2 separate regions of the Homo sapiens genome follow, and region 1 is linked to region 2. The links are contacts of gene promoters, found by promoter capture Hi-C in blood cells and fetal thymus (Javierre and others, 2016). All regions are on one chromosome and are shown on one strand. The core of a region is centred on a gene start or on the middle of the fragment in contact, and the rest is flanking DNA. Distances in the headings are between cores, read along the strand shown. Region 1 overlaps SAMD8 (sterile alpha motif domain containing 8). Region 2 holds the start of AP3M1 (adaptor related protein complex 3 subunit mu 1).

The links. The method cuts DNA at HindIII sites, captures the fragments that hold promoters and counts their contacts. A CHiCAGO score of 5 or more calls a contact.
Region 1: a contact is called between a fragment that was not itself captured here and the fragment with the promoter of AP3M1 in region 2, in 3 of 17 cell types (total CD8 T cells, naive CD4 T cells and total CD4 T cells). The highest score is 5.5, in total CD8 T cells.

The regions. Positions count from the first base shown.
Region 1 is chr10:75,173,992-75,180,429 of GRCh38, forward strand. SAMD8 (sterile alpha motif domain containing 8) reads left to right here. Exons shown (of 6, transcript NM_001174156.2): 5 at 2,075-2,225; 6 at 2,397-6,438. The coding sequence ends at 2,701. Among named protein-coding and RNA genes, the nearest start is that of VDAC2, 34 kb to the right of the region's middle. The HindIII fragment of the contact is 1,002 bases long and covers 1,898-2,899 here.
Region 2 is chr10:74,146,477-74,153,125 of GRCh38, forward strand. It overlaps AP3M1 (adaptor related protein complex 3 subunit mu 1), which reads right to left and starts at 4,352. Exons shown (of 9, transcript NM_012095.6): 1 at 4,279-4,352. ADK (adenosine kinase) reads left to right here and starts at 4,745. Exons shown (of 11, transcript NM_006721.4): 1 at 4,745-4,867. The coding sequence starts at 4,803. RefSeq lists enhancers at 4,276-4,505, 4,916-5,095. The HindIII fragment of the contact is 5,595 bases long and covers 4,041-6,649 here.

The DNA of each region.
Region 1 (6,438 bases), core at 1,149-3,648, 1.0 Mb after region 2:
AGCATGCCTTGCACATAGTAAATGTACATAAAATTTTAGCACCTTTTTGTACCATTATTATGTTATTATTAAATTGTATTATTATAATAATACTAGTATGCCTTTTTGTGTGTGGTTTTTGTTGTTGTTGTTGTTTTTTTGAGACGGAGTCTCGCTCTGTCGCCCAGGCTAGAGTGTAGTCAGGCTAGAGTGCAGTGGCGCGATCTCTGTTCACTGCAAGCTCCACCTACCGGGTTCACGCCATTCTTCTGCCTCAGCCTCCCGAGTAGCTGGGACTGCAGGTGCCCGCCACCAAGCCCGGCTAATTTTTTGTATATTTAGTAGAGATGGGGTTTCACCGTGTTAGCCAGGATGGTCTCAATCTCCTGACCTTGTGATCCACCCACCTCGGCCTCCCAAAGTGCTGGGATTACAGGCGTGAGCCACCGTGCCTGGCCTCTTTTTTTTTTTTTTTTTTTTTGAGATGGAGTTTTGCTCTTGTTGCCCAGGCTGGAGTGCAATGGCACGATTTCTACTCACCACAACCTACCCCTCCCGGGATCAAGAGATTTTCCTGCCTCAGTCTCCTGAGTAGCTGGGATTACAGGCATGTGCCACCATGCCCAGCTAATTTTTGTACTTTTAGTAGAGATGGGTTTTCCATGTTGGTCAGGCTGATCTCGAACTCCTGACCTCAGATGATCCACCCACCTCGGCCTCTCAAAGTGCTGGGATTATAGGCGTGAGCCACCGCACCCTGCAGTATGCTTTTTTTTTTTAAGTGACTGTCCCTCTTTTGTAAAGCAGTTGTCACTCAAGGTCTTCCTCAAAATGGACTGCTTTTTTAGGCGTATGTGTGGGAGTTGGGATTAGGTTTGGCTATTGATAACTGGAAATTCAAAGTGGCTATGGTTTAATAAACACACAATGGTTTATTCTCTCTCAAAAAAGAGTCTGAAGGTAGGTACACAAGGTCTGGTATGATAATTTTACGAAGTCATCCAAAAAAACCCCATAATTCTTCTGTCTTTCTGGTCTGCTATCCCAATACTTGGCTTGTATCCTCAAGGCCACTTTGTGGTCCAAGATGGTTGCTGGAGTTTCACCTCCAGTTGAATGAGTCTGAGTTGTAGACTAAAAAAAGGAAAGGTAAAAAGTTAGAAAAGACTTCCTCAAAACTGTTGTCTCTTACCTTGATAAGTAGCCTTCCCAGAAACCCTTAACACTTCTACTTAGATCTTATTGTACAGAACTTAGTCACGTGGCCACACCTAGCTACAAGGGAGGCTGGGAAAGGCAATATTTTGGCTGAATTCATTGCTGCCTCAATATATTTGAGATTGTGTTACCAGTGAAGAAGGGGAGAGTGGATGTTGAAAGGTAGACATTGATCTCCGTCTGTCATAGCCTATGTCTTATTGGCAAGAATAGCCAAGCAACTACTACTGTGATATTGGATTAAAAACTTGGAGATGTTTTTGTATTATAGAGAACTTTTTATTATAAAGGAACTCCTAGTAAAGGAGTTCATGTTACAGTGATTTCATTTATTTATTTATTTATTTATTTATTTTTAATTAATTAATCAATTTTTTTGAGACAGAGTCTTACTGTGTCGCCCAGGCTGGAGTACAGTGGCGCGATCTCGGCTCCCTGCAACCTCCGCCTCCCAGGTTCAAGTGATTCTCCTGCCTTAGCCTCCCTAGTAGCTGGGATTATAGGTGTGCACCACCATGCCTGGCTAATTTTTGTATTTTTAGTAGAGTTGGGGTTTCGCCATGTTGGCCAGGCTGATGTTGAACTCCTGACATCAGGTGATCCACCCACCTCAGCCTCCCAAAGTGCTGGGATTACAGGCATGAGCCACTGTGCCCAGTCTGATTTCATTTAATTACCAAAATATTTCTGAGTACAGCCAAGCTTTGCCCACCCATTCTTGAAGTCTGGCTGGAATTCATTAGACTGAAGGCCTAGATGCTTTGGCTTAGATCTTATTTCTAAGTTATTCAGCATTTGAATTTCAATAGGAATGGATGTTGGGAAGTTCCCACCTCCCTAAGCATTTGAAGCACTAATTCATAACTTTTCTTCATAGATATATGGCAGTGTATGGGAGAAATTACATCGAGCCTTTGCCATTTGGAGTGGCTTTGGTATGACCCTGACTGGCGTTCACACATGTGGAGATTACATGTTTAGTGGCCACACAGTCGTCCTAACTATGCTGAATTTCTTTGTCACCGAATGTAAGTATCTTTTTAGTGCTTCTATGCGTATTAGGTAACTAGCTGCAGTGAAGGCTGTGGGAAGGGTGTCAGATCCTGTGAAGAATGGCAAAACAGCCTGACCTGAGAAACGTGACTGAGAAGCATTGGAAGGAATGTAGCTTTAAAATGATCTTTCTGTCCTTTTCCTAGATACACCAAGAAGCTGGAATTTCTTGCACACTTTATCCTGGGTTCTCAACCTCTTTGGAATCTTCTTCATCTTGGCTGCCCATGAACATTATTCTATTGATGTGTTTATTGCTTTTTATATAACAACAAGACTCTTTTTGTACTACCATACTCTGGCCAATACCAGAGCATATCAGCAGAGTAGGAGAGCAAGGATTTGGTTTCCCATGTTCTCTTTTTTTGAATGCAATGTTAATGGCACAGTACCTAATGAATATTGTTGGCCATTTTCAAAACCAGCAATAATGAAAAGACTAATTGGATGAATACTATCTTTCTAATGAATTTGTGATTAAATATATAATAGTTGTTGAAAATGAGTAACTTTGCGTTCTCCCCCTAGGTTGTTCTTAGATGCCTGGCTTATGTGTTGACAAAGTAAAGTTTTCTGTTCTGAGCAAAGTTATGATTATAAAAAGCAAGAAAGAACAATCAAGAGTCCTTATGTAGCTATTTGAACAGAAAGCTTAAGTAGATGTTTTCTGCCCCTTCTCTTTAGGAAGACTTAATGTTGTGATTGAAGTCAGGCTGTACCCTTACCTGTTGAGTATTTGCTTATTGAACTTTAAACAAGTCAACTTGAGCAGTTTGCTGGTTGAGGAATTTTCATTGATTTCCAGTAGGGCTCTAGTCAAGAAATAATATGTTTTGAAGCTCCTTATTACCTTTAGAAGAAGAAACCCTAACAAGTGACAGTACTTGTTCTTTGGACTAATCTTTGTTTCATTTTAAAAAATGCAACCCTGGGACATGATCTGTTTTACTGACAAAGAGTTTTTGCCTTCTGAACCATCTTTAAATATACTGAGCATACCAGGATGCCTGAAATAAGAAGAGAATGAAAGAGGCCATAGATGACGTGACAGAGTACTGGCTAGGATGCCATTGGTCTCCTCATTAATGCAAATGTAGGGCTGGCATATTTCACCAAAGATGCAACAAAAGATGCAGTGCCAGTGTGACCCTCAGTGAGTATTCATGAGGGAAAAATGGCTGCATCCATAAAAATAAATGGGCTTAATGTTAGTGGTATAGGTACCCAGAATAACTTCTTTGTGCTATAGTTGTTAGATGACAGTTCAATTTTATGCTTTTTTAATGGTGTTATTAAATGAGCCAAATAGGAGTGTTTTACCAGATGTTAGATAAAGTTCTTAATGCCGTTAAGTAGGGAGGTATGCATGCAAAGAATTGTTTTCTCCTGAAAAGAAACTTACAGCACGCAAAATATAACTTTTTGGTTTTTGAAATTTATCATTCTTGGCTGTTGGAAGTAAACAGTCTCAGACATACTTGGATATGAAAAAGTTTCGTTGTTTTTTACTTTTAAATATAATGGTGTATATACATTCTTTCTATTTAGTCTTAATTTGGCAGTCAGGAAGTGATATAACTTAGCTGCTATTTACAACACTAGAAATTTAGTACTTTAAGTAATTTCACATCTATGATAACATTTGTTACTTTATTTTTAATGATTTTTTTACAGTAGTTATGACAGTAGGATGGTTATGGAATTGGAATTTAAACTCCCAACTAATGAGCTTAAGCTGCTTGGAATATTAATTATGTAGTTTTTACATTCCATTTTAAAACAAAAACTTAGAAAAGGTGCTGGCATTCTGAGGCCTGCAATTAGGCCACATAGCAGAAGCTTGCTCCTTCCTTATCTGGGTGAAATATTTTATTTTTGCACTTTGAGTCATATTCCCACCCCTGTATAAGCTACATAGGAGCCTGAATGAATTGGGTAGGAAAGGAAATTATGCAAACAAGTCTCAGCTAGTGCTGAATGACCCCAATTTGGGTCTGCTGTGAACATCATTTTTGTATTTCTCACTTGAGAAATGCTGCAAGGCAATTCAACTTTTATGCTTTTAAATCTCACAACTCAGAATCTGATATCTTAAATCACTGATTCTGTTACATGCTAGGAACAAAATGCCAACATCTCATGTAAAGAAGTTGCATAATCATGAAAAATAAAGGATGTTTCCTATGCCAGTTAGAGTGGTTTGACCCTTCAGGTAAAAAGATATGTTACTGTTATTTTTCTACGTGACAGAACAGACTGAATTTAGCTAGGGAGGCAGTGATGTTGGCTTTTGGGAAAGGGTTCAAAAAACTGTATGGCAACATTAATGCTAAAATGTTAAGCCGAGTGCAGTGGTGCAAGGCTATAGTCCCAGGTTCTGAGGAGGCTGAGGCAGGAGGATTGCTTGAGGCCAGGAGTTAGAAACTAGAGTGTGTTATAACGCCTATGAATAACCACTGCATTCCAGCCCGGGCAAGGTAGCAAGACCCATTCTCTTAAAAACATGGCTGGGTGCAATGGCTCACGCCTGTAATCCCAGCACTTTGGGAGGCCAAGGCAGGCGGATGGCTTGAGGTCAGGAGTTCGAGATTAGCCTGGCCAATATGGTGAAACCTCATCTCTACTAAAACTACAAAAATTAGCTGGGCATGGTGGCACGCACTTGTAATCCCAGCTACTTGGGAGACTGAGGAACAAGAAACACTTGAACCCAGGAGGTGGAGTTTGCATTGAGCTGAGATCACTCCACTGCACTCCAGCCTAGGTGACAGAGTGAGACTCCATCTCAAAACGAAACAAAACAAAACAAAACAAATTAGAGTGGGTGCAGTGTCTAATGCCTGTAATCGCAGCACTTTGGGAGGCTAAGGCAGGAGGATCACTTGAGCTCAGGTAAAAGAGACCAGCCTGGGCAACAAAGTGAGACCTCATCCCCACAAAAAGTTGTTTAGAAAATTAGCTGGGCGTGGTGATGCATGCCTGTGGTCCCAGCTACATGGGAGGCTGAGGCAGAAGGATCACTTGAGCCCAAGGAGGTTGAGGCTACAGTGAGCTGTAATCATGCCACTGCACTCCAGCCTTGGGGACAGAGTGAGACCCTGCCTCAATCAATCAATCAATCAATAACAAAAACTTAAATAGCTATTAACCTCAGTCTTCTTTCCTTCATATAAATTCTATTCTAAGACCAAATAGAAAAATAAATGTAACTAACTTTGCAGAGCTATTGACATTGAGAGACCTAACAACAGACTGCAATGGGGATTGTAAAATAACTTTTCAGCCTTGCACTTGCTCATATATGTTTTGAGAAAAATGTAAGTTAGGTATAACTTATTGTTTTAACTATTATAAGGCAGTGTTTACATAAATTAATCATCTCTTTCTTGGAAAACATTGAGACAAATTTATTTTCAGTTTTACTTAAACATGAAACCTGTATTTTAGTTGCTTTTTGTTTTGTCCAGAAATTTCCAGATTTTGTCTTCATTTTTTTTCCTGGTTAAAATCTAAACCATAGTGAAGATAGTATTTATGTTTACATTTTATCTGTGAATGTGGCTAAGCAGAGAAGCTACATGGCTTTGGTCTACATATTTTTTGACCTTGTATTTGGTTCTGTAGTTGCAGACTTGTGAAGGCTTACATCATCATGGAGACTTTAGTAAGGAAGGAACCAAAAGGTTTTTGGTTTGGGGATGCAAACTGGAGGTTATGTTACAAGTCTTCAATGCATTTTCTGTGTTCCTGGCAGCAGTGTTGCCTTTTTTTTTCTTTTCCTTTTTTTTTTTTAAAGACCAGGTAGGGTAGTGTTATTGAAGGGTAATTGAAGAGTGGTAGAGAGTAAGAGGTTTTGAAGGAGGCAGGTTTGCTGTTATCACAAAATAATTTGGGGGAAACCTTTCGTGGCTGTGCTGCAAGAATTCTTTATGTGGCTATCCTCTCCATAGTTTTCTGACCAGAATTGCAAGGGCAAAAATAGAACTTCTAGCTCTATTTATTTGTATCCTTTGAAATCAGAACTTATCCTTAGAACCAGTCAGTTAAATAATGCGGACTATGCCTATAATCCCAGCACTTTAGGAGGCTGAGGCAGGCAGATCACGAGGTCAGGAGTTCGAGGCCAGCCTGGCCAATGTGGTGAAACTCCGTCTCTACTAAAAATACAAAAATTAGCCGGGCGTGGTG
Region 2 (6,649 bases), core at 3,102-5,601:
GACTATGAGGATGGGGTACAGTGAAAAGATAAGAGAAACATTTAGGTTTTGTGCTAAAAAACATTTAGGCTTGGAGGAGGGGGTGTGTGGAGATGAGAGAGATGTGTCACTTGGCCTGGTCCTGTGTAATTTGACCAATTCTGGATACATCTGACCCAAATAAATATATTCAAAAAACTATTATATATACCCTTCTGGTGCTTTAGAGAAGCCAGATTGGAATCAGAATTGTAAGTAATCAGGATTTTTTGTTAATGGGAATTAATCAAAAGGAGAATTGAAACAAAAGAAAGAATGTGCATAGTATGAAGAGAGCTTATGGCAGGAACTCCAACATTTGAGTAGGAGGTGGGTCAAGGAAGTGGACCTAAAGAATGACCAAGATGTGACTGAAGAGTCCTAAGAAAAAAAAAAAAACAGGGTGGTTTTTAGTAACTATAGCTTATTAGTGTATTTCCAGAAGAATGGAGTGGTAAATACTGTTACATGGCACAAAGAGGTTAAGCTACGAGAATTGAAAATGTCAGCTGGGCGTGGTGCTCACACCTATAATCCCAGCACTTTGGGAGGCCAAAGTGGGAGTATCACCTGAGCTCGGGAGTTCGAGACCAGCCTGGCCAACATGGTGAAATCCCATCTCCACTAAAAATACCAACAAATTAGCTGGGTGTGGTGGTGGGTGCCTGTAATCCCGGCTGCTCTGGAGGCTGAGGCAGGAGAATCGCTTGAACCCGGGAGGTGGAGGCTGCAGTGAGCCGAGATGGCGCCACTGCACTCTAGCCTGGATGACAGAGCGAGACTCCATCTCAACAACAACAAAAAAGAATTGAAAATGTCTGTTGATTTAAGAGTGTTTTTTAAACTTTCTTTTCCTTAATGCCTGCTAAGGAGCCCTTTTAGACTCCATCTTCTCACCACCCTGCCAATCAAATTCCTCACCCATAAAACTTTTTATTATTCTTTCTTTTTCAACTGTAAATTGACAAATTATAGTTGTATATATTTAGGGGTACCAGATGTTATGATTTATGAAATGTGGAATAATTAAATGAAGCTAATTAATATCACCATAAAATTTTAATACCACAGAATATTCTCTGTTTATGTATTGTATTTGTGCTTTACACATAAAAAGAGTATTATATTTTTTTCACCTCACAAGAAGCAGTTTTTATCTGCTTTGAGAATGCATGATTTAACACACAGAGGACACTGGTGATCTTGGTAAAGGTAGTTTTGGTGGGCTGGGTGCGGTGGCTCACACCTGTAATCCCAGCACTTTGGGAGGCTGAGGCGGGCAGATCACGAGGTCAGGAGTTCGAGACCAGCCTGGCCAACATGGCGAAACCCTGTCTCTACTAAAAATACAAAAGTTAGCTGGGCATGGTGGTAGGCGCCTGTAATCCCAGCTACTCGGGAGGCTGAGGCGGAAGAATCACTTGAACTCTGGAGGCGGAGGTTGCAGTGAGCCGAGATTGCCATTGCACTCCAGCCTGGGCGACAAGAGCAAGACTCCATCTCAGAAAAAAAAAATAGTTTTGGTGGTAGTTCAGTGGAATGCTAGAAATAAGACATTGCAGTGGGCTGGGAAATAAATAGCAAGAAGTGTAAAAAAATAGAGATATGTAGAGTAGATTCAAGAAGTCTAGCTGTGAAGAGGATGAAAAGACAGGAAAATAAATGCAGCAGTTCATAAAGTGAAGGAAGAATACATTCAAATGCTGAAGGAAAGGTGTGAATAGAGGGGGAAAAGCTGACATAGGAGAGAGGGAAAAACGGAAAGAGGACCCTGACATAGCAGGAGAGGATGCTACTGAGAGACTAGGTCAAAGGGTTTGCCTTCTCTAAGGAGAAGGAACACTTTCTACTCTTCAGATTGAAGGGAAGGTTTGTATACTTGACTGCAGGCAGATGATGGCTCTCCTTCTCTGTGTAATGGGAGAGAGGTCATTTCCAAAGGGAGAGAGAAGTCCTCTTCTCTGTAAATACCATGTGCTACTCATGAATTGACACAGTACTGAGCTACTTAAAAATATTTAAATCTGCAAAGAACTCCCATAGCGTATGTGTATATGTATTTTTTTTTAAGAGATAGGGTCTTGTTTTGTTGCCCAGGCTGAAGTGCAGTGGACCAATCATAGCTCACTGTAACTTTGAACTCCTGGGCTCAAGTGATCCTTCTGCCTCATTCTGCCTCTACCTCCTGAGTAGCTAGGACTACAACCACATGCCACAAAGCCTGGCTAATGTTTAAATTTTTTGTAGAGATGGAGTCTCGCTATGTTGCCCAGGCTGATTTCCAGCTCCTGGCCTCAAGTGATTTTCCCGCCTCACCCACCCAAAGTGCTAGGATTACAGGCGTGAGCCACCGCACTCCATCTGCCCATAGTATATTGGTTTGTTTTTTTTTTTTTTGAGACGGAGTCTTACTCTATTGCCAGGCTGGAGTGCAGTGGCGCAATCTCAGCTTACCACAACCTCCGCTTCCTGGGTTCAAGCGATTCTCCTGCCTCAACCTCCCGAGTAGCTGGGACTACAGGCACGTGCCACCACGCCCAGATAATTTTTATATTTTTAGTAGTGACGGGGTTTCTCCATATTTGCCAGGATGGTCTCGATCTCTTGACCTCGTGATCCACCCACCTCAGCCTCTCAAAGTGCTGGGATTACAGGCATGAGCCCTACCGTGCCTGGCCGTATATTATATTAAATGGTTAGAAATAAAAATCATAAGATTAAGTAAGAAAATATAATCTTGTTGCAAAGAGAGCTTTCCTAAAGATACGTAAGGTTTTTTTTTTTTTTTTTTTTTTTTTTTTTTTTTTTTTTTCGAGGCAGAGTCTCGCTCTGTCGCTCAGGGTGGAGTGCAGTGGTGAGGTCTCAGCTTACTGCAACTTCCGCCTCCCGGGTTCAAGGGATTCTCCTGCCTCAGCCTACCAAGTAGCTGGGACTACAGGCGTGTGCCACCACACCTGGCTAATTTTTGTATTTTTAGTAGAGACAGGGTTTCACTATGTTGGCCAGGTTGGTCTCGAACTCCTGACTTTGTGATCCGCCCGCTTCAGCCTGCCAAAGTGCTGAGATTACAGGCGTGAGCCACCGCGCCTGGCCAAGATTCGTAAATTAAGATAATTCTTCATTAACCTCATTCACTTCACTTCTCCTATAGTGTCAATTGAAAGTGTCCCTCTGTCTTTCCCAAATTAATCCTTTCACTTGTAACTTGATCCCATTCCTTTCCTTCTCTTCTGGGAGACAAGACTTTTTCTTGAATCTTCAAATAGTTGCTTGCTTCCTGCCCCCAAATAGATATCTTGTATTCTTTAAAACAAACCCCAAACTTTCCCCCACCTTGCCACTCTCAATAATCTTGCTTCATGCCCCAAATGATGAAGGATTGGTCTACACTTGCAGTCTTTCCTCAGTTACTATTAAAGCATCTCTCTCAAACAGCTCAATGACTTTCTAATTATAAAATCCAACGACCTATTCTGATTTCAGCTTCCTCCTCTGACCATTGCAGCATTTTATGTCATTGATAACTTTCTCCTAAACAAAAATACTTCTTACCCTTTTATATGAAACTTCATCTGTTTTGGGTCTCACCTTGAAAGTCTTTCGGGCTTAATTCTCATAATTTTTTTTAAAGTCTTTCTACAATCTCCATGTAAACCACTGTTTCAAATTCGATAAAACTCAAACTCCATAAAATACCTCCTCCTGTCACTGGCACCATCTTCTTAATCACACATAAGGCTGTAAGTTTCAGGTTCAAACAAATCTACCAAATACAAACAGCCACATCGCCCGTCACTCTTCCACACTCACTGCCACCTGCTCAGCTTAGAACCCCGTTACCTCTCTCCTGAAGAACTGCAACACCCTTCTCACTGCATTCCTCACCCCAGGCTCTTCCAGGCACCACCCGCTAACAGGACGTCTGCTCAGGTCCGTTTGGGGTTTTGTCCTCCAAAGCAGAAACCTGGGACTGAGATTCCTGCCGTCTGTACTCCAGCTCACTATAGAGGGGGAACCCAGTAAGCTTGACCTCCGGGGCTCAGGCGCCTGAGAACACTGGGCTGCAGGTGGACCGCTCCCTTCTGGCCTTGCTGGCGAGAAAGCCCGGAAGGCCGGGAGTGGGGGGGAAGCGAGGCCCGGGCCAACAGCACCAAAGACGCTCCTAGAGCCCAGATCGGAGTCGGGGGCCCCAGCTATTCAGCCTACTCCCGGGTTTTGGAGCTGTCCCCAGTCCACAGATTTCCCGCCCCTCACACTCACCCCAACACCTGTGCCAGTCAGTGATTCGGCGCCGGATCCTCTCCTACCGAAGCTGGAGAAGCCGAGAAGGCCGCGAGGACCCGCAGCTGGAGTGCCCAGGAAATTGCCTGATTAACAGCTTCAAAGACACCGACTCTGTCTACCGTATTAGAAATTTTAAATATGCAGGAAGACCGTAAATGAGAGGAAAGACGTCTCTTGAGGCTTAGTATCTAAATCTTCTACATAATCCAGGGCCTAGAAAAATGGTGGGTTTCTCTCCATCTAGATTCAGGCGGTCATCTGCTGCCTAACGCAGTCTGGGGTCCCTCATGGTAGGGGAGGCGGGGTCAGGAATGGGCGGGGCATTCGCTGTTGGTGCCGACGGATAGAGCCAATGATTGTGGATGACAGCGGCACAGAATGGGCGGAGTCTGGAGGGGCGGGATTTGGAGAAGAGAAAGCGGTGATGCGAAGAGGGGGCGGGACCAGAGAGTGGATGGCAGAGGTGGGCTGTAGAGCCAAAGTGGGGTGGGAGCGCGAAGATGGCAGCTGCTGAGGAGGAGCCGAAGCCCAAAAAGCTGAAGGTGGAGGCGCCGCAAGCGCTGAGGTGAGCGCTGCCGGACTTGGGGAGGAGGGTGACGGCGCTGCAAGCAAGCCAGGGCCCACGTGGGGTTGCACGGCCCCGACGCTGGGTGGTGTCTCTCACTGCCAGCTTGGGGCCAACACGCAGGACCTCCCCCAGCTGCCCGCTTGGCCGCGACCCCTTGCCAGACGTTCTCTCCGTTTGGCTGAGTCCCCGCCTGTCTGGTGCAGCTCCGGCTCCAGCAGCCCTTCGCCAGTCGTGGCCCGCAGGGGGACCGAGCTGGCTGACCGCGCCACCTGCGAGCAAGCCCAGGCTGGGCTGGTGCGACCCCGGAGGGTCGGACCGGAGCAGCGTCTGTAGGCGGCCGCCTTCTCTTCCCGGGGGATGGCGGGAAAGAGGCTCGGCAACTGCTGTACACTGGGGCAAAGTCAGAATTCTTGGGGATTTTTCAGAGTGTTGCGGAAGGGCACGTTGACCTTCCTTTTCGTGCACATTCTGAAAGCCCGTACCTTTGAGGACCCTCTACCAGGGACCCAGACCCCTCCGATGCTTTGCAGGGGCAGCATTTGGATGAATGGATAGGAAAGGTTGATTTCTCTTTTTTATTTACACTTTTTGGCAGCAACGGGGACAGTGCTGCCCCTAACACCTGCCTCACATGTGATTGATGTTGCAACTTTTACTTATGAAGAGTCATTTGTTAAAATATCCCTTCCTAATAAGTATAAAGTGAAGCAGGCAGTCTTTGATGATTTGGAAATGTTCGCTGAAAGGCAGCGATTTTTTTTTCCATCTTAAAATAGACATATCAAACTGATTTAAAACTATTAGGACACTCCTGATTAAACAGGACATATCCCATTTCTTCCAGTATCACTCTTCTTCACCTCCAAAGGAAGGAATCACTCACAATTGAAAAGAAAAGGACACTTAGGGGCCTGGTGGTGTGTTCATGCTGCTTTGAATGGAGGGTGAACAAATCCTTGCCAGTTCCTTTAATGTATTCCTACTACCCTCAAAGGGTTAGTGTGCCTACCTTATACCAAGAACATAAACTTTAAAATAAAAACCCTCAGGATATTCTATTTTTATTTTAAATATTCCAACTATATGCAGAATAAAAAGCAACGGCTTTTGAATCAGACCTACCTGAGTTCAAGGCATGTGCTTTCCCTACTCTGCCCTTTATTAGAGTATTTCCTTATAAGGCACCTCCTTCGCCAAACTGGAAGACAGATGCAACTTTTCCCTACCATCCTACTGAACATATAACCCTTAGATTTCCTTAGATTTTTCCTTAATAAAAATTATTATATATAATGCTGATCCATTTTCACTGTGTTTTCCTATTTATTATCTTGTTGGACAGTTCTGTGATCAAAGGAAGGCAAGAATTATGCCTATTTTACAATTGAAGATATTGAAGCCCAAATAAAACAATTAGTACAGGAACAGAAATAGGAACTAGCTGAGCATGTTTTCTTATACCTGCAGTCCTGGTGCTTTGTGAGGCTGTGGTGAGAGCATTCCTTAGGCAACTAAAATTCACTTTATACAATATGAATTTAGTGCCACCTGTAGACATGAAGTTAAAAGATTAGACACTTGAGTACTGGGACAAATCTCTAATTTTGTGGGGAGACATTTTAGGATCGGCTATTATTACTTTTATTATATTAATTTGCTTTCAGACTCAAAGTGTGATAATGCATTGAGTATTTACACTGAATTTATGATGACTTGCTTGACAGGGGATTGCTACTGGTTTTGGTTAAGGAGAATGGATTATAAAGACTTTGCATAATT